Regions from separate parts of the Homo sapiens genome. Here regions 1, 2 and 3 are each linked to region 4. The links are contacts of gene promoters, found by promoter capture Hi-C in human tissues and cell types (Jung and others, 2019). All regions are on one chromosome and are shown on one strand. The core of a region is centred on a gene start or on the middle of the fragment in contact, and the rest is flanking DNA. Distances in the headings are between cores, read along the strand shown. Region 1 holds the start of DEF8 (differentially expressed in FDCP 8 homolog). Region 2 holds the start of FANCA (FA complementation group A). Region 3 holds the start of CPNE7 (copine 7). Region 4 holds the start of ZC3H18 (zinc finger CCCH-type containing 18).

Region 1 (2,978 bases), core at 86-2,585, 1.4 Mb after region 4:
AAGGACATGCTCCTGCTGCAGGTAACTAGCCAGACCCATCCCTTTATCTTGGCCCATCCCTTCGTTTCCCATAAGGGATACTTTTAGTTAGTCTAATATCTACAGAAACAATGCTTATCACTGGTTTGCCGTTAATAAATACGTGGGTAAGTCTCTGTTCGAGGCTGTCAGCTCTGAAGGCTGTGAGACCCCTGATTTCCCACTCCACACCTCTCTATCTCTGTGTGTGTGTGTCTTTAGTTCCTCTAGCGCTGCCGGGTTAGGGTCTCCCCGACCGAGCTGGTCTCTGCAAGGTGGTGTGTGGCTCCCACTTGGGAGGCCTCCAGTTACTGGCACTGTCATCACCATGCCCACTGAACAAAGTGGACCAAGCCCCAGAGGCAGCCAAAACCACACCTTTCTGCAGGGAGGGTAAACTGAGCCCGCGAGCTCAGGGCAAGCGCACCAGGCGCATATGCTGGCCTTCATCTGTCCTCAGCTCCTCCCTGCGGGCACAAGCGGGGGCAGCTGAATCTTCCACGCGAGAAGCCTAAGAGTAGGGATACGGGGGCGGGGAGCAGCAGGCCTGCTCTGTGTGTAAACAACGGGAAAGCAGGAATAACGCCAGGGCCCGCGGACACCAGCTGCCTCCGAAGTCCCGCTGCCCGGCGCCTGCATGGAGCAGCCTCCTGAGCGCAGTGTGGCGCGTCCTCCTGTGTAAAGAGGGTAGAGCCGCGCCGGGTCCCTCCCTCTGCAGCCGTGAAGCCCCCGCGGGGCCCTGCAGGTGGCTGGCGGCACCTGCACACGGTGGTTCTCTGTTCCTTTTTCCTCCTCAACCACTGAGGTTAAAAAAAGTGTTAAAAGCCACCCTTTTTGTTTTTTTGAGACGGAGTCTCGCTCTGTCGCCCAGGCTGGAGTGCAGTGGTGCGATCTCGGCTCACTCCGAGCTCCGCCTCCCGGGTTCACGCCGTTCTCCCGCCTCAGCCTCCCGCGTAGCTGGGACTACAGGCGCCCGCCACCGCGCCCGGCTAATTTTTCGTATTTTTAGTGGAGACGGGGTTTCACCGTGTTAGCCAGGATGGTCTCGATCTCCTGACCTCGCGATCCGCCCGCCTCGGCCTCCCGAAGCGCTGGGATGACAGGCGTGAGCCGCCGCGCCCGCCCATTTTTTTTAAACGTGTTGGGGTTTGGGTTTCAGCCACAGGCCTTCTGCGATGAGAGGAAACCCAGGACGCGCAGCCCCAGGTCAGGCCCGCGGAACAGCCGGGCGGACTCCGGGGCTCGCAGACTCGCGACCCGCGTGCCATGAACCTCCGCGCCGGAGGCGGCAGCAGCGAGCGCGGGGCTGGATCCAGCGTAGCGGGGCGGCCGGGCGGATCCAGCGCAGCCGGGAGACAGATGCGAGGCGGCGGTCAGGTGAGCGGCGCGGGGCCGGCGGGGTCGGGGCCGGCGGGGACGGGGCCGGCGGGGACGGGGCCGGCGGGGACGGGGTCGGCGGGGTCGGGGCTGGGAGGGACGGGGCCGGCGGGGACGGGGTCGGCGGGGACGGGGCTGGGAGGGACGGGGCCGGCGGGGACGGGGCCGGCGGGGACGGGGCCGGCGGGGTCGGGGCTGGGAGGGACGGGGCCGGCGGGGACGGGGTCGGCGGGGTCGGGGCTGGGAGGGACGGGGCCGGCGGGGACGGGGCCGGCGGGGACGGGGCCGGCGAGGTCGGGGCCGGCGGGGACGGGGCTGGGAGGGCGGCCCGCCCGGCGCAGGGGCCTCGAGACCTCGGCCGCCCCACCCCGGGGACGCCGCCGCTGCTCCGGCGTCCACACCAGCTGCGTGCGGAGCACCCGGGCGGCTCAGGGGACCCGCGTGGCCGTGCCCCCGCCCTGGGCTGCTCCGAGCCTCAGTTTCCCCCTCGGTGGAACGGGTGGGTGGGAGAGACCTGCCCCCGAGGAGCCCGGGAGACCGGGCGAGCTCCCGCGGGTGTGGTGGGTGGGGAGGCACAGTGCTGGGGTGGCTTCTCCCTGCAGCAGGTGCCGAACCCACGGCCAGGCTTCCGTGGCCAGCAGCCCTAGAGGAATGGCCATCCTGTCCCTGCGAGCCCCTGGGCCCTGGCAGGCGATGCAGGTATGGGCAGACAGGACGCTGTTGACTCCGCACACCGGGGTGACTTCTCAGGTTCTCGGGGTGGCAGCTGCAGTGATGACACCGCTTCCTGGTGGTCACGCCGCGGGCAGGACGCGGGAGGCCAGGTCCGTGCATCCCGCGTGTCCTGAGCTTCGGCCCAGGGTCCCTCCGTGCCCCGGAACCCCGCCGGCTTTCTTCGGCTTCCTTTCATTGCTAAGTTGTGGGGTCCTCCCCGATGAGAGCAGTGGGCTCTAGAGGAGGGGCAGGGGGTGGCCAGACCTCTTGCTTTCACTCTTCCACTTCCTGCCCGCTCCTTTCTGAGGCCAAGTCCCACATCTGGGTGCAGAACTGGTGGGGTGAGCCTGGTGAGAGGGGCAGGCTGGCGTTCTGCTCAGAGTCGGCCACTGTGGCCGGCATCCCCAGGTCTGTGTGAGCAGAAGCTAAGGCTGCGAGGCCAGCGGCCTCCCCTCATTCATCCCCTGCCCGTGCGCCAGGCCTGGGGCTGGCACTGACTGTCAGTAAATAGGCAAATAAAAGATGCCTTTTTTCACAGCCCGGAGGAGAGCTGGTAGCCTAGAGTACAGCTGCTGGGCAGAACGGAGGTGTCCCTGCCAGCGTGCCTTCCTTGACGCTCCTCTGGCCATGTTTTAAACACCAGGAGGTTTCCAGCGGCTTCCCCAGGCGTAGCTCCTGCACCTTTTTCCTGGGCTGGTCACCATATGTGATGACAGTGCCAGTCTGTTCTGAGCAGCTCTGGGCTCCTGGCTTCACTGACATCATAAACAAGTCCTTAGCCCTTCCATCCACCCCAGAAAGTAGGTGTTCCCCCTGATTTATAGGCAAGACAATGGAGAACCAGAGTCTAAATCAGGGCTGATTTTTTT
Region 2 (2,957 bases), core at 59-2,558, 1.2 Mb after region 4:
TTTTTTTTTTTTTTTTTTTTTTTTTTTTGTGAGACAGTCTCACTCTGTAATCCAGACTGGATTGCAAGGGGCGTGATCTCGGCTCACTGCAATTTCTGCCTCCCGGGTCCAGGTTCAAGCAATTCTCCTGCCTCAGGCTCCCGAGTAGCTGGGATTAAAGGCGTGCGCCACCACACCCAGCTAATTTTTGTATTTTCAGTAGAGACCGGGTTTCACTATGTTGGCCAGGCTGGTCTCGAACTCCTGACCCTGAGTGATCCACCCGCCTTGGCCTCCCCAAAAGCTGGGATTACAGCCCTGAGCCACGGCGCCCGGCCTGTTTTTTTGTTGTTGTTGTTTTGTTTTTAATAAAAGAGGCGGGGTCTCACCCCGTTGCCCAGGTTGGTCCAGAACTCCCGGGCTCAGGCGACCCTCCCCTCTGCGGGCCAGGCCACCGCGCCCGCCGCCTCGGGTGTTTTCTTAGGAAAGCTGTGCGGTGGCTGGACTCAAAAACCCCGAACCTAAATCTGCCCGCAGACGGACACCAGCTTCCTCTTACCTCAAGCAAAAGGGCATTCAGGTCCTGATGGCTTCGCAGGAGGCGCACAGCTGATTCCTTTAATTTCTGTGCCCTTTCAGGATTATATTTTTCCCTCTTGACCCTTCCCGCTACGGAGAGAAGTCGGTTCGAAACCATCACAGCACAATTCACACACGGGGTCCCCGGCCCGACGCGCAGGTGGACGCCGCGGAGAAACCCACCAGCGACACCCTCCCGAAGAGGGGCCGGGGCTCCTCCCCAGGGCGCAGGTCTCGGGAAACTAACGGAGACGGCCCCACCGCGGACGCCGGGGAAGACGGCCCAGGAGGGCCCGAGGCAGGGGAGCCCGGGGACGGCTGGCGAGGGGCGGCCTCTGCGCTGAGGGGAGCCCCAGGCCGCGCACCCCAGGCCCGCCTGACAGGGCGGCCGGCGGGGGCGGCGTTCGGGAAAGAAGGGAGCGCCCCGCGGGCGGCGGCTGGGGGCGTCCGCCCAGGCGCAGGAGGGGCCGGGTCCGAGGCAGCCGCGCCGCCCCAGCCGGGCGCCCACCCCGCACAGCCCCCCGGGCGCGGCGTCCGGGGATCCGACCGGCGGAGGCTCTGGCGGGAAGGGATCGGGGAACCGGCGAAACCGTCCCGGGCCGGACGCCGCCCACTCCCGCGGCCTGCCGCGCCCACCTACCCAGCAGCTCGGCCCAGGCCCTCCGGCGGCCCCCTGGGTCCTGGCCCGAGGCGGAGTTCGGGACCCACGAGTCGGACATGGCCTTGGCGCCTACAGCCCCGGCGGCGGCTCCCTGCGCCCGAGCCCGCGCTGCCTTCCTATTGGCTGCGGCCAGGCGCGCACACCCGTTGGCTGGCGGCGGCCAGGCCACGCCCCTCAGGTCGAGGCCTTGCGTCGTGGCCATGTTGGTCCTGGGGGAGGCGCCTGCGCGCGGTGAGGTAGTTTTTGCGTTTGGCTTTGCCGCCGCGGTGTAGTCCGCGGGGGCGTCTCGCGCGGGCAGACTGCCGCCCCTCAAGCGTGGTTCCTGCCGGGAATGACTGGGGTTGGTCCTGAAGAGACCACCTGGCCAACCAAGCCGAGGCAGGCTCAGAGCGCCGCGGGGAGCGCAAAGCCGCGCGCGCCTCTGAGCTCCGGGCAGCCGCTGTTCCTCCCGGCGGCCGAACGGTCCGCGCGCAGGGCGGTGTTTCGGCAGCCGGAGACCGCGCGGTAGCCGCGCCTGTATTCCCAGCGCTTTGGGAGGCCGAGGCTGGAGGGTCGCTTGAGCCCAGGAATTCCAGACTAGCCTGGGCAACAGAGCGAGACCCCATCACTTTTGTTTCTTTTCTTTTTTTTTTTTTTCCTTTTTTTGAGACGGAGTCTCCCTCTGTCGCCCAGGCTGGAGTGCAGTGGCGCGATCTCGGCTCACTGCAACGTCTGCCTCCTGGGTTCAGGTGATTCTCCTGCCTCAGCCTCCCGAGTAGCTGGGATTGCAGGTGCGCGCCACCACGCCTGGATGATTTTTGTTATTTTTAGTAGAGACAGCGTTTCGCCATGTTGGCCCAGGCTAGTCTCGAACTCCGGACCTCAGGTGATCCGCCCGCCTCGGCCTCCCAAAGTGCTGGGATTACAGGCGTGAGCCACCGCACCCGGCTGAGACCCTATCTTTTAACCAGCCTGGGCGGCAGAGCGAGACTCTGTCTCAAAACAAAACCAAACATAAGAATTCGTAAAAGCGAGTGCCTAGGCGAAGCTAATGTGCCTCAAAGTCCTGGGTAAGTAGAGGCCCTGGAGACCCGTCCGCATCCTCTGGCAGTGGCCTTGGAACCACCGAAGGGATTCAGCCGAAGGGCCGCGTTCCCGGCAGGCGTCTTTATTGTGTTGATTACGTAGATGGCGTAGATGACGTAGATGACGTTCAGCACCACAAACGAAGAGCCGAGGCACAGAGTGGGGCCTTGGATTCATGAGATGGGGATGGAGCAGAAATGAGAATTCGGAGTCCATGAAACCCCCACAAAGACTCCTGCACGGCCCGACTCGGACACTTTGCAATCTGCTGGTTGAGGGGGATGGTGTGAACTCAGGGAACAGCCTGAGATCGCGCCGCTGCACTCCAGCCTGGGCAACAGAGCAAGACCCTGTTTCAAAAACAAAAAATAACACTAAGCAATTAACAGGACTAGACTCAGAGGTGATCGAGAAATTGAAACAGGCTGGAAATTTAAATTAACTGTGATTAATATGTGGAGGTCTCTTGTACGAAAGGTGAACAATATGCATGAGGAGGAAACTCATCAAATTATAAGAAAGGAAGAACGCTGATAACAGGTAATTTTTCTGATGGGGCAGCAGTAGGATCAACACAGCTGAGAAAAATAGGAATTACCCACGTTGGAAAATAAAGAAGAAAAAAAGTTTTTTTTTAAAAAAAGCATCCAAGAACTGTGGGAAAATATCAAAT
Region 3 (2,826 bases), core at 227-2,726, 1.0 Mb after region 4:
CCACACTGCAGACGAGCAAACCTCAGGGCGGTGGTGAGGAGCTTTCGGGTGAGGTCAAGGCAGGAAGCGGAGCTTGGTCTGGGGAAAACTGTCCCAGGGCTGCTGGAACCGAGCGGGAGGCACGGCCTGCAGGAGCTGCCTGGGCGCCCGCACCCTTTGCCTGAATTTCGCATCCTTTTCCCATGGAAGTGGTTGGGGACCGAGGATGTGGCCTCCCGGCAGCCTGGAAGGCTGGGCTGAGGAGGACACAGGGCCGGGAAGGCCCAGACTGGTCCCTAGAGAGCGGGACTGGCCTCTGCCCACTGCGGGCTTCAGGGAGGAGGCGCAGAGGCCGGGGAGACAGCAGATGGGGCCCTGCAGGCCTCGCTGCGCCCTGACCTGTTCCTCGCCTCTTTAGCCAACCTCCCGGGAAGGCAGGAGCCGGTCTCCATGGCCTCTCCCGGCCCTGCCAGCCCCGTGGGGCCTCCCCGCCCTGCAGCCGCGCCCGGCGCCATCCCGCCGTCCGACCGCGAGGGGACGCCGCTGGCCGCGTTCCTCCTCCCAGGCCGAGGCTGCCTGTGCTGCCTCCCGCCGGCGGGGCCCTGAGCCTCCTCGCCCTGTCGGCGGCGGTCCCCTCTGACCGCAGGGTCTTCTTCTAGAGTCCTGATCGCCGAGGCTGAGCGGAGGCGCCCGGTCTTCCCGCCTCTTCAGTCTTAATGTCTCCCTCACCCTCGCCCCCCACCCCCGTGGCTTTTGGCGAGGTCCGTGCCCTATTTTTAGGCAGAAATCGGCAAAAAGAGTGGACTGCGAGGTGGTTTCTGTCCCCGCCGACGCCTCCTCTTCCGCTGCTCCCTCCCCCGGGACCGGTGATGGGGAAGGTGGGGGAGTGAGTTCAGGGCGGAGCGGGCCCACCCCCCACGGAACCCAGGCCTGCCCCGCCCCGCCCCGGCCTCGGGGGACTGGTGTGGACCGTGCCCCGCGGACCCCTCGGAATCAGACCGCGATTCAGCCCTCGGCCCCCCGGGACGGTCCTTCCAGCCCCAGACGAGCGCGGCGCCTGCACACAACAGGCGCCCACTAAATGCTTGTTGATGGAGGTGGCGAGTACCCGAAACCAGCGGAGCCTGGAAATGGGATCCTAGAGATCCGGGAAGGGCGCGGGGATCTGGTGCCAAGCTGGGGTCCCCCTTTTGCCTCCCCTAGTGTCTGCCTGGGTCCGAACCCGGGCTCAGGCCCCGCGCAGCTCGGAGCCTCCAGCCCGGAGCCGGTCCCTGGGCCGGGGATGCGCACAGCCGGGGAGGGCGCGCCCGACCTGACCCCAAAGCTATCAGTTGGGGGGGGGGTCCCCGGGGAATTAGAAGCTGTCTCCTCCCGGGCATCTCCGAGGGGCACCCCTGCCTCTGCCCCCTGCCCTCATTTCCCGCCGCGCCCCTCCCCGGCCCCGCCCCCCGGCCGCGCCCCACCCCCTGCAGTCCCCGCGCGGCGGCCGCCCGAGCCACGTGCGCCCGCGCCCGGCAGGCGTTCAGGGAAGCGCGGCCACGCCTGGGCCGGCCACCATTTCCCGGGCGCCGCGGCGGCGCCGACTCGCGGGCAGCGGCCCCTCAGTGCGCCCAGCCGGGCCCCCGAACGCCGGGAGCATGAGCGCGGGCTCGGAGCGCGGGGCGGCGGCAACCCCCGGGGGTTTGCCCGCGCCCTGCGCCTCGAAGGTGGAGCTGCGGCTCAGCTGCCGGCACCTGCTGGACCGCGACCCGCTCACCAAGTCCGACCCCAGCGTGGCGTTGCTGCAGCAGGCGCAGGGCCAGTGGGTGCAGGTAGGGCCGGGGCGTGGGAGGCCGAGAGGCCACCGGGCCGGGGCTGGCGCCGAGCTGGGGATGCGGAGACCAGAGCGGGCGCGCTGAGGCCAGTGGGGCGCAAGGCGGGGCCCCCCGGAGCTGGGGCTCAGCTCGGGGTCAGGGTTGGGGGTTACCAGGTCTGGGGGTGGGGTGTCCAGAGCTGTGGGGAGAGGCTGGGCTGGAGGAGGTGGCGGCGAGCGGGGTTCGGAGGAGAGAGGGGGGTGCCCCGCAGTGAGGGGTGCGGCCCAGGGTTCGGGGAGGGGGCCCCGGGCCAGAGTGAAGCGCCCAGGCATGAGGCGCGGGCAGGGGGCTCGACCAAGAGGCGCAAGGAGATTGAGGGGTGAGGGGCGCCGGCCGACGGGGGGCGGGAGGCTGGGCGGGAGCAGGCCGGCGAGGGAGCGCGCGCTGGGGTGCGGACCTCCAGGCGTCCGGGGCTCCCGCTCCAACGTGGGTCTCAAGCGAACCCGCTGTGATCGCGGTTGGGGTCCGAAGGGGCACGGGGCCGGCGCCAGACGGGCGCTTCCTCGGTCACCATCTCGCGTGAAACGCGTGGCTTCACCTCGAAAGGGCGAGAAACGCATGGCGCGAAGCCGCAGCGGGCGGAGGAGCCGGAACTCGAACCCCAGTCCGCGCGGGGCGCCAGCGCTTTTCCCCGGCGCAGGGGTCTCTCCAGGCTCCAGCGCGGGCCCGGGCGGCTGCTCGGGCGGTGGAAGGGACGCGGTCACCCGGTGGCGTCTCCGGTCATCCACCTTGAGGGTGAAGGGCCTGCCCCGCCCTCACCGCCTGTCCCCAGGGTTCCGGCTGCCCCCGGAGGCCCCGTGCCCGCCCCTCACAGCCTGAGCCCACCCTTCACATCCCGAGCCCACCATCCCCACGGAGGCCTCGTGCCCGCACCCTCAGAGCGTGAGCTGTACGGGTGGCCCATGTTTGCCCTTGGTTTGAGGTGCAGGATTTTTCAGGATTCTGAAATGAGTAGCCTACTGGCCCAGCTGGGTCTTGTCCTTACGGGGCAGTT
Region 4 (2,700 bases), core at 1-2,500:
CAGGGTTGAATTCACATTCCTCTTACGTAACCATAACAAGTTGCTGGGACTACAGGCACGCACCACGGTGCCCTGTTAATTTTTTTGTAGAGACAGGGGTCTTGCTTTGTTGCCCAGGCTGGTCTCAAACTCCTGGAGGAGGTGGTCCTCCCACCTTGGACTCCCAAAGTGCTAGGATTACAGGTGTGAGCCACAGTGCCAGGCCTGTGGTACCTCTTCCAAGGACACTAATCCTATCAGATCAGGACCCCACCCTTATAATCTCATTTAACCTTAATTACTTCTCTAAAGGCCCTTTCTGCAAACACAGTCACATTGGGGATTAAGGCTTCACATACAAATGTTAGGGGGACAGAACTCGGTCCATAGCATGGAGTCGCACAGGTTTTGTCCTTTTGCGATTGGCTTGCTTTACTTAGTATGTTTCCAAGGTTCACCCATGTTGTGGCATGGGTCTGAACTTCACTCTTCTTGATGACTGACTCACACTCCACTGCATGGACAGCCAGCATTTTGTCTGTTCCTCAGTTTGTGGACATCTCGCCCCCTTGTTTCCACCTTGGGGATATGGAGGAAGATGGGATGAGCGAAGCCCTGTGATCCCCAGGACCAGCCACGTCGTTGGCAAGGGTCAGCGCAGGATGAAACCGCCGGCCCCTGGTCTCCGGCCGGGCCCTCCGTCTCTAGAGCAGCTCGCACCGCTGCAGCCCCTGGACGCCCCGGGCTGTGGACGCGCCCGTGGGACACCGCGCTGAGCAGGACACGCGACAGGTCCCCTCACTGGCGCTGCTCGCGTTGAACCGCGCGGGGAGCCAGGCAGCCCACGGGAAAGGTAAGAATTGTTAGGCTTTTAATCTAAAGTCGATACCTCAAAAAATAATTCCGGAGGTAAGCATTTAATATCAACATTCAATAAAGCAGGAAGTATCAGCCCGACGAAGACCGCCTTAAGTTTTCCACTTTGATGAACTCGATCATCCCCGGGGATGAAGAACCCGCCGGCCCAGCCGGAGCCCCGTCACGTGACCCGGCGGCCGCGGGGAGCTCTGTGCGCAGGCGCGGATCCGCACGCCCGCCGCCTGAGAAGCGAACTCCCCGTGGCGCCTGCGCTGTAGCGGGGGTTCGGCTGGCTCGCGCGGGTCCGGGCGCGCGCTGCGGGGGCGGAACCGCGCGGAGGCCGGAAGGAAGCTGGAGGGGGCGGGGCGAGGGAGGGAAGCCCGCCGGCCGTAGGACTACCGTCGCGGCCTGATGACGTCGCACAATGGCCGGCCCCCGCGGGTAGTGGAGCCCGTTTGTTCCGCCCGTGTCGAGCCTGGAGCCAGAACCTGTGAAGAGCGGAAGGGCCAAGGGACGTCTTCTCCACGCCGCTCCGACTCCAGGGGAGCCGTGGCCTCCTCTCCGCCCTAGCGCTGAGGTTAGCTGGGGCCGGGAGGGCGGCGGGAGGCCGGGCCGGCGGCGGCGGGAGGAGGAGGCCGCCGAGGCGGCGGCGGCGGCCGCGGGAGGGAGGCCCGGGAGCCCGGCGCGCCTCCGGCCGTGCGGACCCACCGGCCGAAGCGTGGCCCTCGGGCCCAGGGAAGGGGACCTTGAGACAGGCACCACCCCGAGTTCCGTCCGTAAGCCGGCCCCGCGGTCCTGGGGCGCCCTGGGCGCCCGAGCTCCTCGCGCGCTGCCTCCGCGCCCCGCGGCAGAGTTTATTTTCCTGAAGCTGTCATTTCTCTTCCGGGCCACTCGCGTGGCACATGTGTGCCGCCGGCTAAGGGGCGGTGAGAGGCGCCCAGATTCACCTCCAGAGTAGGTCATCCCGGGCTGCTGCTGGGCTCTTCGGAGAACTTTGAGCTCTTTATGAACCTCCTGGAACTTGCTCCGCAGCTTCAAAGTGTGCACAGGTTGGGCGCAGTGATTGCCCCAAGACGCGCGCCGGTCTCTTAGGAGTATGTAACTTCCTTGCCCCTTGGATTAGGAGATCAGAGGTGCTGGGTCCTTTATATAGACCAACTGCAGCTATAATGCTGGAAGAACTGAAACTTAACAGCCTTACTCCTGCCAAACATTTTTCCTGAATACTTTATGACAACTGAGTTTGCCGGGTAGAGTGGCCGTTTTAAATGAGCTTTGTTCGAACAACGCTAACTCATTTGCAAGAGTAGGTCATTCTTCAGACCCATTTGGGAAAATGGAAGAAGAGAGTGTTTGGCATCTGAAGTACCGTTTGGGGTGTAGCAAGGTGCTCATCATGTCTCCTGTTAGACTCACCTCCAGCCTGTTGTCTGTAGAGTAGTCCTTTCCCGTTCAGTAGTTGGGATTATCCGGGTGAGGTTTGACCTCGGCTGAATCCCGCTTCCCAGCTTTGGGAGGAGAGTCTTTTCCTGATAATTTTACTATCTAAGGGCAGTATGGAGCCCAGCCAGCCCTGGAACCAGTCAAATGTGTCCCAAAGCCGGAAACTCCTCTCCCGTTGTAGGTGGGACATGCTGAAATATTGTAAGAAAGCTTTGTGGAGTCACTCCAGAAAGCAAACAGGTAAGTTAACCTATGGCCTACATCGTGTTTACAGAGATTTGTATTTTGTCACAGCTACAGAGCATCTCAAGGTGAGTACCTCTTTATCAAGGAGTTTAGTGGTCACGCTTGGTCACTTTGCACGTGGGGTCTGTCACCAACCTTGATAACGTTCATTTAGATATTTTAAGTCCATGAGGT

What was found. The method cuts DNA at HindIII sites, captures the fragments that hold promoters and counts their contacts. A contact is called where the count stands out against the background at its distance.
Region 1: a contact is called between the fragment with the promoter of DEF8 here and the fragment with the promoter of ZC3H18 in region 4, in 1 of the 25 tissues and cell types used here (lymphoblastoid cells).
Region 2: the fragment with the promoter of FANCA here is called in contact with the fragment with the promoter of ZC3H18 in region 4 in 1 of the 25 tissues and cell types used here (lymphoblastoid cells).
Region 3: the fragment with the promoter of CPNE7 here is called in contact with the fragment with the promoter of ZC3H18 in region 4 in 1 of the 25 tissues and cell types used here (dorsolateral prefrontal cortex).

What each region holds. Positions count from the first base shown.
Region 1 is chr16:89,947,420-89,950,397 of GRCh38, forward strand. It overlaps DEF8 (differentially expressed in FDCP 8 homolog), which reads left to right and starts at 1,336. Exons shown (of 13, transcript NM_001242818.2): 1 at 1,336-1,395; 2 at 1,998-2,094. RefSeq lists an enhancer at 346-685 and a silencer at 1,366-1,465. The HindIII fragment of the contact is 40,323 bases long and covers 1-2,978 here.
Region 2 is chr16:89,815,339-89,818,295 of GRCh38, forward strand. FANCA (FA complementation group A) reads right to left here and starts at 1,309. Exons shown (of 43, transcript NM_000135.4): 1 at 1,199-1,309; 2 at 539-648. The coding sequence starts at 1,277. RefSeq lists silencers at 813-862, 1,093-1,382 and enhancers at 1,243-1,537, 1,923-1,972. The HindIII fragment of the contact is 15,845 bases long and covers 1-2,957 here.
Region 3 is chr16:89,574,282-89,577,107 of GRCh38, forward strand. It overlaps CPNE7 (copine 7), which reads left to right and starts at 1,477. Exons shown (of 15, transcript NM_153636.3): 1 at 1,477-1,790. The coding sequence starts at 1,617. RefSeq lists silencers at 401-630, 871-940. The HindIII fragment of the contact is 23,727 bases long and covers 1-2,826 here.
Region 4 is chr16:88,569,153-88,571,852 of GRCh38, forward strand. ZC3H18 (zinc finger CCCH-type containing 18) reads left to right here and starts at 1,251. Exons shown (of 18, transcript NM_144604.4): 1 at 1,251-1,414. RefSeq lists enhancers at 432-541, 652-701, 1,792-1,841 and silencers at 942-1,271, 1,452-1,521. The HindIII fragment of the contact is 27,123 bases long and covers 1-2,700 here.